Regions from separate parts of the Homo sapiens genome. Here all the other regions are linked to region 1. Evidence: promoter capture Hi-C in human tissues and cell types (Jung and others, 2019). All regions are on one chromosome and are shown on one strand. The core of a region is centred on a gene start or on the middle of the fragment in contact, and the rest is flanking DNA. Distances in the headings are between cores, read along the strand shown.

Region 1 (2,590 bases), core at 61-2,560:
TTCATGCTCTGGCGGTAGCGCTTGACTCGGATGCGGGCGGCATCCGGACTGCTGCGGGCGGGGGGAGGGGGAAGAAAGGCAACTTGAGACCCCATCAAGCAGAGCTTTGGCCCCAACACCGGGAACGGGAGCCATTCTAGAGCCAGAGGGAGCTGGAAACTGCTCGCGCCATCTGAGCTGCGGTCCAGCCCCGACGATCCCCCGGGCCAGGGGAGTGGAGACAGAGAACTCCTCCCGCACACCTTCCTTCCCTCCCGTCCCTGGACAGCACAGGGCGTAGTTACCTGTCTTCGGGGCTTCGAGAGGCACCCTTCATGTCCTGGGGCCGAATAAGGGTCTGGGCAGGCCCGGCCTTCACGTCAGCGAGCCCGGTGGGGTAGCTGCTGGACATCCGCAGTTCCCTCTTCCCACGACTCAGAGCCCACTTATTCCACCTGGAAAACACAAGCAGACCCGATTCGCGTGCGTTCAGGTGACGCCCAGGCCTGTCCCTGCTCCCATTCACTTCTAGACCTTCGGGACCAACGGTCAGTTCCCCTTGCCTGCCAGGTACCAGCAAGGGGGAAGGCGCTGCCCGGACTCACTTCTTTCGAAACTCCGACGCGACATCCAACCGAGCGGTGTCAGCGCCTAGGAAGGCGAGCGAACCCAGGTACATCAGGGCGACGGAAACCAGCTTCATCCCGGCTGCGAAGCGCAGACCCTGGAAAAGAAGAAAGAGAGTCGAGCGTGAGCACCCGGGCCAGCTGCACCGCCCGGGCGGGGCACGGAGGGCGGGCAGGGGCCCCGGCGAGGCGGGTTTAGCCCGCGCTTTCCCTGGCTCAGACGCTTATCTCCCTCCGCGCAGAGAGGCGCCAGAGGCGTTTGCACGCGCCGGCCGGGTGACAGGCCCCGCAGGGGAGGCCGCTGCACCCCGCCAGGCTCCCAGAGGGTCTCTGCTCAACTTCTTGGAACTTGGCTGACGGAGCAGAGGGGACTGGGTCTCTGGACCTCCAGCTGTGTGCACGAGCTGGGCCCAGGATATGGGGTGTATCTATCTCTCAGAGAACCCTCCAAAGTGGGTTGTTCCCCTCACCCAGCGCTCCCAGTTTAGGGCCTTGGCAAGCACTGCCCCCCACCCCACCTCTTAACCCGCAGGGTCTGCGGCACCTACCTGCTAAGAGAGTGATCTGCCAAGTACTTGAAGGAGAAAGTCTCAGACGTCCCACTGGCAATGGCAAAACTCCGAAGTCCAAGCCCAGCTGCAGTGAGAAGCCCGAAGTGGCAAGGCTTGAGCTGTTCTATCCAGTGTCACCAAGAAACCACTGAGTGGCCAGCTCTGGTTCCTGTGCTTTATAAGCGCACGGGTGGGGGAGCGGCGGGGCGGGGCCTGGGCTGCCCGGTTGCCTTCCCTTTCTTTCCTCAGCCACGCGCGCTCCTGCTCTCGGACGCGCGCATTGCTTCCTTTGGGGCTGGAGTTGGGATGGGGGGAGGGGGGAGCGGGGGAGAGGAGGTCCCTCGTGCCCAGAGGGCTTAGGTATGGGCTCCAGGCGGTTGGTGCAGGAACTGCCACAGCCCTCTTTGGGCACAGGGTTCAGACAGTACGCCGGAGCGAAGGGGCGCCACTACAACCTCTTGAGGTCCTTATCCAGGACCCATGCGGCCCGGAGTGCAAAGCCTCCTGGCGAAGAACAGCAAGAGCCCGCGGAAGGGACAGCGCGGATGGCCCGAGCCCTGGACCTGGGGAGCTGTGGCCTCAAGTGGACCGCGCCCCCCTGCCGGCTTGGCGCCTGACCGGGCCGCGACCCCAGACTCCCGCGGAGGGGCCGGGGCAGGGACGGAGCAAAGCCGAGAGGAGCAGGACTCACTAGTCCCCCAGAGGACCAAGACCCCGGCGTTTCGGGGTGAGCTAGTAAGATTTCACGGTAGGGACAAGGCTCAGAAAAGCTAAATTGAGAATTGGGATTTGGAGGGGGGAATTATCTGAAATTTCAGAATTTTCATTTCTATTTGGAAACATAGGAATAACCAAAATTAGGAGGAAATATACTGTTTCATTTTGCCTCCTTGTAATCCTATTATGCCTTATAAGGTCATAACCTGAGATTGTGCCTGGCTGCCTTCATTAATCCATCGTAAACGTGAGGACTGACTGCCAGGGAGCACACTAACGCTTCACGTATGCTAATCATTTTACAGTTTACCAAGCACGGCCACATCCCAGTCTACTTTGAGCTTCACAGCCACCCTTGAGTCAGGCAAGGAAGGTAACATTCCTTTTCCCATTTCAGCAGGTAGAAAATTCAAGCTCAGAGAGGGGAGGTATCTGCAGAGAGGGGAAGTCACCCTGCAGGTAGGAAGCAGCAGAGTCCCTACTCGGCCCGACACGCTAGCACGGCCGACTGGGGCGCGGCGTGGATTCCTCTAGGCTGGGGTCACCAACTTCTCAAGGGGCAAAGGAGAGTCCTAGCCCCCGCCCAAAGAATTTGTGCCTGTTCATGATGAATCACGCTAGACACGTTTGTCACCCGTTTGTGCTCTTTCATCACAGCTTCTTCTCTTTCTTACTTCTCTCCTGGGGGCCAAACTGGGAAGGAAAGGCTAAGCCACG
Region 2 (2,590 bases), core at 59-2,558, 400 kb before region 1:
AACCCACCGGTCTACTGACAAGGCTTTCTAAGGTCTGATAGCTTGTTTGCAATCCTCATCTCCTGGGCTCCCTGCAGTACTCTACAGGCCACCTCCTCCTCTTTTCCATGTACTGACAGCAACTTCCTGTCTCTTGCCAGTTTTTTACTGGCTCCTCATTTTTTGGTCCTCTGTGTTGATTTTCCCCTTTCTCTCTTTCCAAGCCTTTATTATGTCCTCTCTCTCTCTCTTTCTCTGTCTTTCTGACTTTCTTCCCTTAGCTCTCTTTTCTCTTACACCCACCCTAATCAGTTTACAAAGGCCTGTGACTGAAAGCTCTCCTAGAAGTCCATACTTCTGAATTCGATGTCACCAGTCTGCACCTCTCTTAAGCCACAATCCTTGTCACTCTGCATTTCTAACCATTTGCTGGGCCTCTCCATCTGGGCCTCCCACCAGCATTTCAAACTGAACTCATATCATCCTTAACCAATGCACTCCTGCTCCTGGCTTCCTCAGGGCATTAACTTCTCTCTACCTGTCCAGAGATCAAAACTTTGGAGTCACTCACTCTGTTCTTCCCATTTCCCACAAGCAGTTAGGGCACAAGTTTCTTGAGTCTCTCTCTCATCTGCCCACCTCATCACTGTTGTTCCCACTTCTCTGTGGAGCTTCACATGTTCAACTGTCCAAGTGTCATCTCTACTTGGATGTTTCACAGTCAACCAAACTTAACATGTCCAAAATAATACTCTGAGTCCATTACTCCTGTGTCCCCGGCTCGCTCCTCCCAGGCTTTCTCATCTCAATAAATGATTTTACTTTACATCAGTTGCTCAACTGGTCATCCTGGATATCCTTTTATTTCCTGAGGGCCACATCTTTATGGGGTATTTCAGGAGCGCCCAGGCTAATGTTCAGCCCATCCACCCCACCATGGCTATGAATTGTTCAAATATTAAGGTACTTCCCTGCCAGTTGCATATTGCTGCTGCCCTGAGACCTCTCCCTATCACCCCAGTCACCCTGGCCCCTTCCCTAGGATTACCTGGACCTTGTCATAGTTTGGCAACTGAAGGATTGATGCCTGGTACTGCTGGGGACTTCCAGGACCCAGCTCTAGCAGGACAGTCACTGTTACCCATACTTAGTGGCTAGTACCCCGGCCATAACAGTTGCCAACTTTCTTGAAGGCAATCCCCAGTGTTACTGATTTTGAAGATGAGGAAACTGACCTTGGAGAGGTTAATTAATTTTTCCATAGTTCCCTGGAGTCTGTCTGGCTCCAAAGTCCACTTTCTTTCCATGGCATTTTACAATAATCCCTTGACTTGTCCCCTGCCCTAGAGCAATCTTCTCAAAGCCCAGCTCATATCAGACACTTTCTCGGCTTAGAAACTTCCTGGGGCTCCCAGCCCACATAAAAGTAAGTTCAAACTCCCAAGCCTGGGGTTTAAGGCTCCTTCATTATCTGACCTACTCAGCCAGCCCCAAAACAGAACCCCTACTACTGCATTCCTGAACACTTCGCCATACCTAGGCATGTACTACTTCTTTACCTGGGAAGAAGACCCTCCCTGACCCACTCTCCATCCTTTGAAACCTTGACCTGTTTGGACTTAATAACTGCCTCAAATGTCAACTAGAAAGCAAATCTTCCCAATGCTCCACTTCTTCCTCGGAGCTCCTGCAGCACTTGGTTCAAGCTCAGTGATCCCTAACTACTGCCCATCCATGGTACTGACTGTGTTCTTCCTTATAGAATAGTTCTACTAACAACACCTCATGTAAGCACAACAACAGAGCTTGCACACCACTTTCACATAGCTTGTATTATGGATGTTACTGACTTGTTGAAGTCTTATACTATCACCTCCTGGAGGGCAGGAGCCATATCTTGCCCACCTCTGAGCCTCCCTGCCTAGCAGAGGCCTAGGCACAAGGTATGTACATAGTGCATATCTGTGGAATGAATGGGTAAGTCATGCTCTTGGGGCAGAATGCAGAAAGTAGATGACAATGTTTCCAGTAGCTGTTCCCTCCAGTCAGGATGCCAAGACCCTTTTGCTCCCTCTTTCTCCCCACCAGCCTACCTCAGGGCCTCCTTCTAATGGAAAGAACACCTAGGCACTTATTTTAATTTTTTTTATTTTTAAAATAATTTTTAAATAAAAGCAATACCTCCACATTGCTTTTTAAAAGAATCAGAAGAGAAAGCCTTGTAACAAAAAGTCCTGGTTTCCTACCCCAAGTTCTGCTGCTAGAGGGAACCCCTTTAACAGTGTCTTTTTTTACTCTTTTTCTTTTTTTGAGATGGAGTCTCTCTCTGTTTTCCAGACGGGAGTGCAGTGCCATGATCTTAACTCACTGCCACCTCTGCCTCCTGGGTTCAAGCCATTCTCCCACTTCAGCCTCCTGAGTAGCTGGGATTATAGGTGCTCGCCACCATGCCTGGCTAATTTTTGTATTTTCAGTAGAGATGGGGTTTTGCCATGTTGGCCAGGCTGGTCTCGAACTCCTGGCTTCAAGTATTCCTCCCTCCTTGGCCTTCTAAAGTGCTGAGATTACAGGCGTGAGCCACCACGCCCAGCCTAACTATGTCTTTAGATGG
Region 3 (2,590 bases), core at 40-2,539, 380 kb after region 1:
AGGTCGCTGTGGCCACACCCAGAGTTTCTGATTAAGTAGAAACTAGGATGGAGCCCAGGAATTTGTATATTTAACAAGTTCTGGCTGGACGCGGTGGCTGAAGCCCGTAATCCCAGCACTTTGGGAGGCCCAGGCGGGCGGATAACCTGAGGTCGGGAGTAGGAGACCAACCTGACCAACATGGAGAAACCCCATCTCTACTGAAAATACAAAATTAGCCGGGCATGGTGGCGTATGCCTGTAATCCCATCTACTTGGGAGGCTGAGGCAGGAGAATCGCTTGAACCCGAGAGGTGGAAGTTGCAGTGAGCTGAGATCAAGCCATTGTACTCCAGCCTGGGCAACAAGAGCAAAACTCCAGCTCCAAAAAAAAAAAAAAAAAAAAAAGAAGTTTTCAGGTCATACTGATGCATATCATCCAGGGACCACATTTTGAAAACTATTACTATAGGCAGTAGGCTGAGAAGGGAAGAGAAGTAAACTGGAAAAGAGAAAGAAAGAAGTAGGGCAAAGTATGCAATGAATGGGAAAATTAAGGGTAGGAGGAACCCTTAAGGGTAGGTTGTGGAACCCTGACAGAACACCAGGGCATTAGAAAGACGTGGTCTCTCTCCATGTCATGCTTCCCTGACTAGGGTATCACTGTCCTCGTGCCTGGACATTCTGAAATAACGGTACAGGGCATGGTGTCCACATTGCAATTTAATATCCACTCACTTTTGTTTCGGGAAATTGGCCTCCTTCTGCAGCTAGTATTTTAAAACCAGTACTTTGAAGGGCTACTTTTTCCACACAGCACTGAAATCTTAGATAAAATCATAAAGAAATTTTAGATTAATGTCTCTTCTCACATGTGAAAGAAGATACTTTATAACTCAATAAGCAGAGAGTCTAATGATCTGCAACCTAATTATAAAATTCCTTTAAGTATATGTTCTGAAAGACAGACTAGGTTTTATGTAGGCATATGCTAATCCATATGTGTGGTAATTAATAGTATATACTTCTTGCACTGGTGCCTAGAATATCTAGATCAGGTCTCATAAACTACACACAAAGCTGGTAGCTTCTCTGTATCAGGAACTTGGCCTGACTCTTGCCTCCCTATCTCCCTGCCAAAGCTCAGTTATACAACTTAGAGTAAATTCTTCCCCCTTCCCAATTCTGCCTGTTTTTCCATGCCAAAAATAAGTAAATAAATATACATATATGATATACATATATGTGTGTGTATATATATATATATACACACACACACACACACACACATATAGTATTTGCAGTTTTGAGCCTTATGAGTTATATGTAGTTGCTGTACTCTCCCAGTATACCTGGCAACTTACTGAGTCTTATTTCTATTTCTTTGGACTAGAGGTATATATAAGATAAGAAATAAGTAAGTTTTTTTTAAAAAAGAAGAGGCCGGGCATGGTGGCTCACACCTGTAATCCCAGCACTTTAGGAGGCCCAGGCAGGCGGATCACCTGAGGTCAGGAGTTCCAGACCAGCCTGACCAACATGGAGAAACCCCTGTCTCTACTAAAAATACAAAATTAGCCGGGCATGGTGGCACATGCCTGTAATCTCAGCTTCTTGAGAGGCTGAGGCAGGAGAATTACTTGAACCTGGGAGGTGGAGGTTGTAGTGAGCCTAAGGGAGGAGACCACCCCTCATATTGTCTTATGCCCAATTTCTGCCTCCAAAGAAAGAAAAAGTAAAAACTAAAAGGCAGAAATGAAATCCACAAGCAGACAGCCCGGGGCCACACCCTGGACCTGGTAGTTAAAGATGGACCCCTGACCTAATTGGTTATGTTATCTATAGATTCCAGACATTGTATAGAAAAGCACTGTGAAAATCCCTATCCTGTTTTGTTACGACCTAATTACCGGTGCATGCAGCCCCCAGTCACGTACCCCCTGCTTGCTCAATCGATCACGACCCTCTCACGCACACCCCCTTAGAGTTGTGAGCCCTTAAAAGGGACAGAAATTGCTCACTCGGGGAGCTCGGCTTTTGAGACAGGAGTCTTGCCGATGCCCCCAGCCGAATAAACCCCTTCCTTCTTTAACTCGGAGTCTGAGGAGTTTTGTCTGTGGCTCGTCCTACTACAAGCCAAGATGGTGCCATTGCACTCCAGCCTGGGCAACAAGAGCAAAACTCTATCTCAAAAAAAAAAAAGAAGAAGAAGAAGAAGAAAGGAGAGGCTATTTCAAATCTTGATGGAAAATCAGCTAGAGAATGTGAGGGAAAAGAGATTAAAATATTCTAACAATAGTGGTATAAAGAAATGTCTAGGAATTACGAACTGAAGAATGACCTAATTCTGGGATCCTGGTAATTTACCTCCATACATTTACTTCTGCTCTTTTCCTAAAAGTTGGATAGTAGAGGATTAAAAAATAAAAAAAGCCAGATGCAGTGGCTCACACCTGTAATCCCAGCACTTTGGGAGGCCAAGGCGAGCGGATCACAAAGTCAGGAGATCAAGACCATCCTGGCTAACACGGTGAAACCGCGTCTCTACTAAAAAAAAATAGAAAAAATTAGCCGGGCGTGGTGGCAGGCGCCTGTAGTCCCAGCTACTCAG
Region 4 (2,590 bases), core at 49-2,548, 360 kb after region 1:
TTTCCTTCCTTCGTTCCTTCCTTCTTTCTTTCTTTCTTTCTTTCTTTCTTTCTTTCTTTCTCTCTCTCTCTTTCTTTTCTTTTCTTTCTTTCTTCCTTTCTTCCTTTCTTTCTTTGTTTTTTTTGAGACAGGGTCTTACTCTCTTACTCTGTCGCCCAGGCTTCAGTGCAGTGATGTGACCATGGCTCACTGTAGCCTCTGCCTCCTGGGCTCAGGTGATCCTCTCACCTCAACCTCCCTGGTAGCTGGGTCTACAGGTGCACGCCACCATGCCTGGCTAATTTTTTGTATTTTTAGTAGAGACAGGATTTTACCATGTTGCCCATCACATAGTCTTAATTAAAGTTTTATAATAAATTTTAATATCTACCAGGGCAAGCCCCCATGCTGTATCTTCCTAAGAAATGTCTTCTGTATTCTTTCCCCTTGTGTTTCCATATCATTTTAGAATAACCTTATTCACTTCCATGAGAGCCTCTACTGGAACTTAAATTAAGATTACATTGAATCCATAGATTAATGTAGGAAGAATTGACATTTTGCAAGTTTTCGTATCTATAAACATAGTATTGTACATCTAGATCTTTAATGTCTTTCATAACACTGTATGGGCTGGGCACAGTAGCTCATGCCTGTAGTCCCAGCACCTTGGGAGGCCTAGGCAGGAAGATTGCTTGAGCCCAGCTTGGACAACATGGCGAAACCCTGTCTCACAAAAAATACAAAAATCAGCCAGCCATGGTAGCACACACCTGTAGCCCCAGCTACATGAGAGGCTGAGATGGGAGAATCACTTGAGCCCACTCGAGGGTGCAGTGAGCCGTGATTGTGCCACCGCACTCCAGCCCAGGTGACAGTACGAGACCCTGCCTCAAAAAATACATGTATGATTTTTCTCCATGAAGGTCTCATACATATTTTGTTAAATTTATTGTTAGGTGCCCTGTTTTGTTGTTGTTACTGTAAATGCTGTCTTTTAAAATTGCATTTTCTAATTGCTTTTTTTAAAATATATAGAAATACAGTAAACTTATCTATTAATATTGCAAACTTCCTTAATTTTAGTAATTTGCCACATATTCTTTTCTGTTTTCTATGTTGGCAATCATATCATCCAGTAATAGGAATGGTTTTTACCTCACTTTCTAAACGTTATATATATATTTTTTTTCTTTCTTATTTTCTGGCAAGGACCTATAGTATAACATTAAATAGAAGTGACAGTAAGTGCCTTTCTTTTAAAGTTTAATCATTAAGCTTTATCTGTGCTAGAAGTTTTGGTAGATATTTGCTATCAGGTTATTAAGTCCATTTCCATTCCTGGTTTAAGAGTTTTTGTCATAATAGGTGTCAGTTTTATGAAATGCTTTTTGTACAGCTCTATCTCATTCTTAATGTGCAATTATTTTTATGATTGAAATCAGTTTATAATTTCTCAAATACTCCTTGGCTGGTATTGGAGCTAAGTTATACTAACGTCAAAAAATGAAATAGGGAGTATTCCTCTGTATCTCTTCTCTGAAACACTTTATGTTAGAGTGAAATCGTGTGTTCCTTGAAAGTTTGTTAAAACTCACCAGTAAAGCCACCTTAACCTAATGTTTTCTTTGGGATAATTTTTTTTTTTTTATTTTTACTGAAGAGACAGGGTCTTGCTCCATTGCCCAGGCTGGGGCTGGCACGCAGGGGTGGGAATCATAGCTTACTGCAGCCTCAAACTTATGGGCTCAAGTGATCCTCCCACCTCACTCTCCTGTGTAGCTGGGACCACAGGCATGCGCCACCATGCACAGCTAATTTATTTTTTTATTTTTTTGTAGAGACAGGGTCTCGCTTTATTGCTCAGGCTGGTTTTGAACTCTCAAGCAACTCTCCCACCTTGGCCTCCCAAAGTGCTGGGATTACAGGCATGAGCCACCACATCCAGCCTTTGGGAGAATATTTTTAATTTCTAATTATAGTCTCTTCAGGTTTTCAGCTTTTCTTGAGTTCATTTTGGTAATTATTTCCTAAGAACATGTCTACTGATTAGTGGCTTTTTTCTTTTTTAAAATTAGTTTTGTCCATTTTATTAGTCTATAAACTCTTTGCCTTTGTATCTTTGCTTTCTGTCTAATTAATTTCTTTTCTATCTTTATTATTTCCATTCATCTAAGTTTTTCACTTGTTCTATTATTTTTTACTTCTTGGGCTGCAGGTTTAAGAGGTTCCCAAATTTTCTGAGTTCACAATGAGTCCTTAGTATCTCAGCAATATTTTCTTGGTGCCCCCTGGGCCAAACCAAATACCTGACAGCTTCATTTAGTAAATCTTTCAGGCCAAGTAATGTGTATTATATTCCTACAACTTAATAGCTATTTGGGAAAAAATATACACTTAAATTTTTTCAAAAATAGTAATATTTTTATTTCATTTAAAAATAACTACAACTGCTTACTAATGGTATACGTGCTCCTGTTGGGTACTACACAGCTGCTCAGACTTTGGTATTAGACTGGCTGCACCACCACCATTTCTATCTTTTAGCATAGTATGTACTTTAAAAAAAATTTTTTTTTGAGGCAGAGTCTCGCTGTGTTGCCCAGGCTGG
Region 5 (2,590 bases), core at 64-2,563, 340 kb before region 1:
AAATGGACCCCCAGGGAGGCTGGGCCCATGGAGGAGTGAGAAGGGCAGTGAGCCAAGGGCATCCTCTGCCCATGCTGTCCTTTTCTCCAGCTGTGTGTTCAGCCTTGTGCTGGTTTGAGGGCTTCCTGGAGGAAGAGGTACCTTCTGTGAAGGAGAGTGCAGCTTGGAAGAATAAGAGTGTCAGAGGCCAGCAGGGCACCAGGAACCAGGGGAGGTGAGACCAAAAACTGGGGATGCAGCTTTAAGAGTAGCGTGGTGTCGTGGGAAGGACACAGCCTGTGTTCAGTCACTTCCCCTATTTACAAGCGGCACAGCCCTGGACAAGTCAGTTTTTGCATTGATAAAGTGGAGATCAAAATAGAAAAGCAGAAGAGAAAAAAGAAAGATATCAATCTTCTACCCCATGCTCATGGCCTTCACTTTCATCTTCTCGTTTCCTCTTCACAATTCTATGAGTTTGGGAGGCATTATCACCCCCAATTTGTAGGTGGTGTCCTCAGGTTTACCCACTGAGTTTCTGGGAGGATTCGGTGAGAAAACACGAGGGGGGTCTGGGACAGGGCCCACCACACAGTGGGCCTGAGTAACTGCCAATTCCCTCTAGCCATGTTTGTTTCTGTGCTTCCATGTCTGTAACCCACAAAGGGCATTGATTGGTTTGAGAGGCAGAGGGTGAGAGGGAGTGGAGCCGGGTGAAGGTGGCCTTGGTGGTGGGTCCTTGATCACTTGGGCTTATGTGGTCAGATGCCCCAGGAGAGATGCTCCATTGCGCCGTGACCACAGTGGCTGGGCTCTCCCAATTTAACTCCAGATGGTTGAGGAGACCCAGAACTAAGAGCAACCATCTTTTCAAAACCAAATGCCAAAGTCATTAATTCAATCCCGAAGGGAATAATAAGGGAACATAACATCTAATGCTTAGTGAGCATTTGCTCAGTGCTAGGTGCACTTCCACAGGCTTGCCATCTAGGGCTGCCAGATTTGGAAAATGAAAATATGATTATATGCTGTACATGGTGGCTCACACCTGCAGTCCCAGCTACTCAGGTGAGAGGATCACCTGAGCCCAGAAATTTGAGACCAGCCTGGGCACATAGCAAGATTCAGTCGAGAGAGAGAGAGAGAATACAGTTATGTCCATGGAATATTTGAGACACACATACTAAAAATTATCTGTTGTACATTTGAAATTCAAATATAACTGGGGCATCCTGTGCTTTATCCAGAAATCCTATTTCTATATCAACTTGTTTAATTCTTATAACTACCCTGTGAGATAGTTCCATTATAGATTAGGTAACTGAGGCACAGAGAGGCAAGGTAACTTGCCCAAGGTTATCCAGCTAAAAAGTATACCATAAGGTAGTGTGGCTTCTGAGCCTGAGGCCCTGAAGCCCCTAAGCCAGTAGGTTGTCTGGCCAACGCTATTTGGTCTTACTGCTCTCCCAAGCTTTCTTGAAGGCCTGCCTTGTGTTTGACAGCTCAGAATGGGAGCAGGGATGCGTGTGTGCACTGCATGAAAATCTGGCAGAATTCACCCCAGAGGGCCCCTAGAATCTTCCCACACACTCTCTCCTGGATTACTGTCTCCCCAGTCCCTGATAGAGTGAAAAACAGCCCCCACAAGACCTGAATGTTCCCACCAAAACAGTTTTGCAGAAAAGGAGAAGTTGCCCAGAGCTTGCTCAACGATTCTGTCAGCTGATGAGGGAAAGAACACTATGATTTTATGAGTTGTGTATTTTGCACACATTAGAAGGCAAGTGTGAAGAACCTTCCAGGATGTTCCATCAAGGGATTAGAGGATTTCCTCCTAATCGCTTTATGCTTCCTGCTTTGTAAGCCACTTGGAATTGTGAGTGTCTGCGGTTACCTGCTTGGCACTTGCCACCCATGGCTTGTTTCTGCCTTTTTGTATGGGCACCTCTGCCATGGTCCTCCTCCCCAGTGAGATGCCTACAGTCAGGAGAGCTTTGCTTCAGGTAACCATTAGCCAGCAAGCAGAGAAAGCTCCTATCAGAAGGCAGCTCACTCCCGTGCCTTGTACCCATTTACCTGGTAGGTATCAACACCGAGGGCACTATTAGTAATAGCAGTGGAGGTTACTTCCCCTTCTCTCCCCATTCCTTCATGCTAATGAATGGGAAGCATTGCAGAGGCCCGCTCAGTTCACCTTTGTCTTCCCAGACCTTAGCATAGACCCTGGCCACAATAGGCATTCAATAAATGTTTGCCGGATGATTGGACAGAATAAGGTCCAATAATGTGGGAGTGTTCACAGACCACATCCCTTTCTTGGACGCCAAACAGAATCTGATCATTGCCAGCCCAGTGCCCCTCTCTTCTCCAAGAAGGTCTTTGCTCTGTAAGACTCTTCAGTAAATGTTTGTGAGTCAATCATACAAACAAATGAAGACAATCTGCACAAAAAATAACTGGATGGAGCTGGGGGAGTAAAGGCTGGAGCAGGAGAAAAAGAGAAAGAAGGTAGACAGAGGATCTGGGCAGGGAGGCAAGCAGGGGAAGAGTCATCAGAGAGGGGGCGTGAGAATCGTTAAGGAAAGAGAAAAGGGCAGAGGAGAGGTCAGGA

Evidence for each region. Contacts are between HindIII fragments. The study calls those that stand out against the background at their distance.
Region 2: a fragment that was not itself captured here is called in contact with the fragment with the promoter of ADM in region 1 in 1 of the 25 tissues and cell types used here (mesendoderm cells).
Region 3: a fragment that was not itself captured here is called in contact with the fragment with the promoter of ADM in region 1 in 1 of the 25 tissues and cell types used here (mesendoderm cells).
Region 4: a fragment that was not itself captured here is called in contact with the fragment with the promoter of ADM in region 1 in 3 of the 25 tissues and cell types used here (IMR-90 fibroblasts, dorsolateral prefrontal cortex and heart right ventricle).
Region 5: a fragment that was not itself captured here is called in contact with the fragment with the promoter of ADM in region 1 in 1 of the 25 tissues and cell types used here (aorta).

The regions. Positions count from the first base shown.
Region 1 is chr11:10,303,793-10,306,382 of GRCh38, reverse strand. It overlaps ADM (adrenomedullin), which reads right to left and starts at 1,310. Exons shown (of 4, transcript NM_001124.3): 1 at 1,154-1,310; 2 at 585-703; 3 at 285-434; 4 at 1-51. The coding sequence starts at 682. It also overlaps a transcript of SBF2 not described here. RefSeq lists silencers at 719-768, 789-838, 1,519-1,568, 1,749-1,848, 2,339-2,398. The HindIII fragment of the contact is 6,042 bases long and covers 1-2,590 here.
Region 2 is chr11:10,703,937-10,706,526 of GRCh38, reverse strand. No RefSeq gene overlaps it. Among named protein-coding and RNA genes, the nearest start is that of IRAG1, 11 kb to the right of the region's middle. The HindIII fragment of the contact is 4,896 bases long and covers 1-2,590 here.
Region 3 is chr11:9,918,862-9,921,451 of GRCh38, reverse strand. All of the region lies in intron 16 of SBF2 (SET binding factor 2), which reads left to right. The region is part of intron 2 of LOC101928008 (a long non-coding RNA gene); the gene reads right to left. Among named protein-coding and RNA genes, the nearest start is that of LINC02709, 160 kb to the right of the region's middle. The HindIII fragment of the contact is 5,937 bases long and covers 1-2,590 here.
Region 4 is chr11:9,940,373-9,942,962 of GRCh38, reverse strand. The region is part of intron 16 of SBF2 (SET binding factor 2); the gene reads left to right. Among named protein-coding and RNA genes, the nearest start is that of LINC02709, 180 kb to the right of the region's middle. The HindIII fragment of the contact is 8,904 bases long and covers 1-2,590 here.
Region 5 is chr11:10,639,580-10,642,169 of GRCh38, reverse strand. The region is part of intron 2 of IRAG1 (inositol 1,4,5-triphosphate receptor associated 1); the gene reads left to right. Among named protein-coding and RNA genes, the nearest start is that of IRAG1, 53 kb to the left of the region's middle. RefSeq lists enhancers at 1-166, 187-236. The HindIII fragment of the contact is 8,261 bases long and covers 1-2,590 here.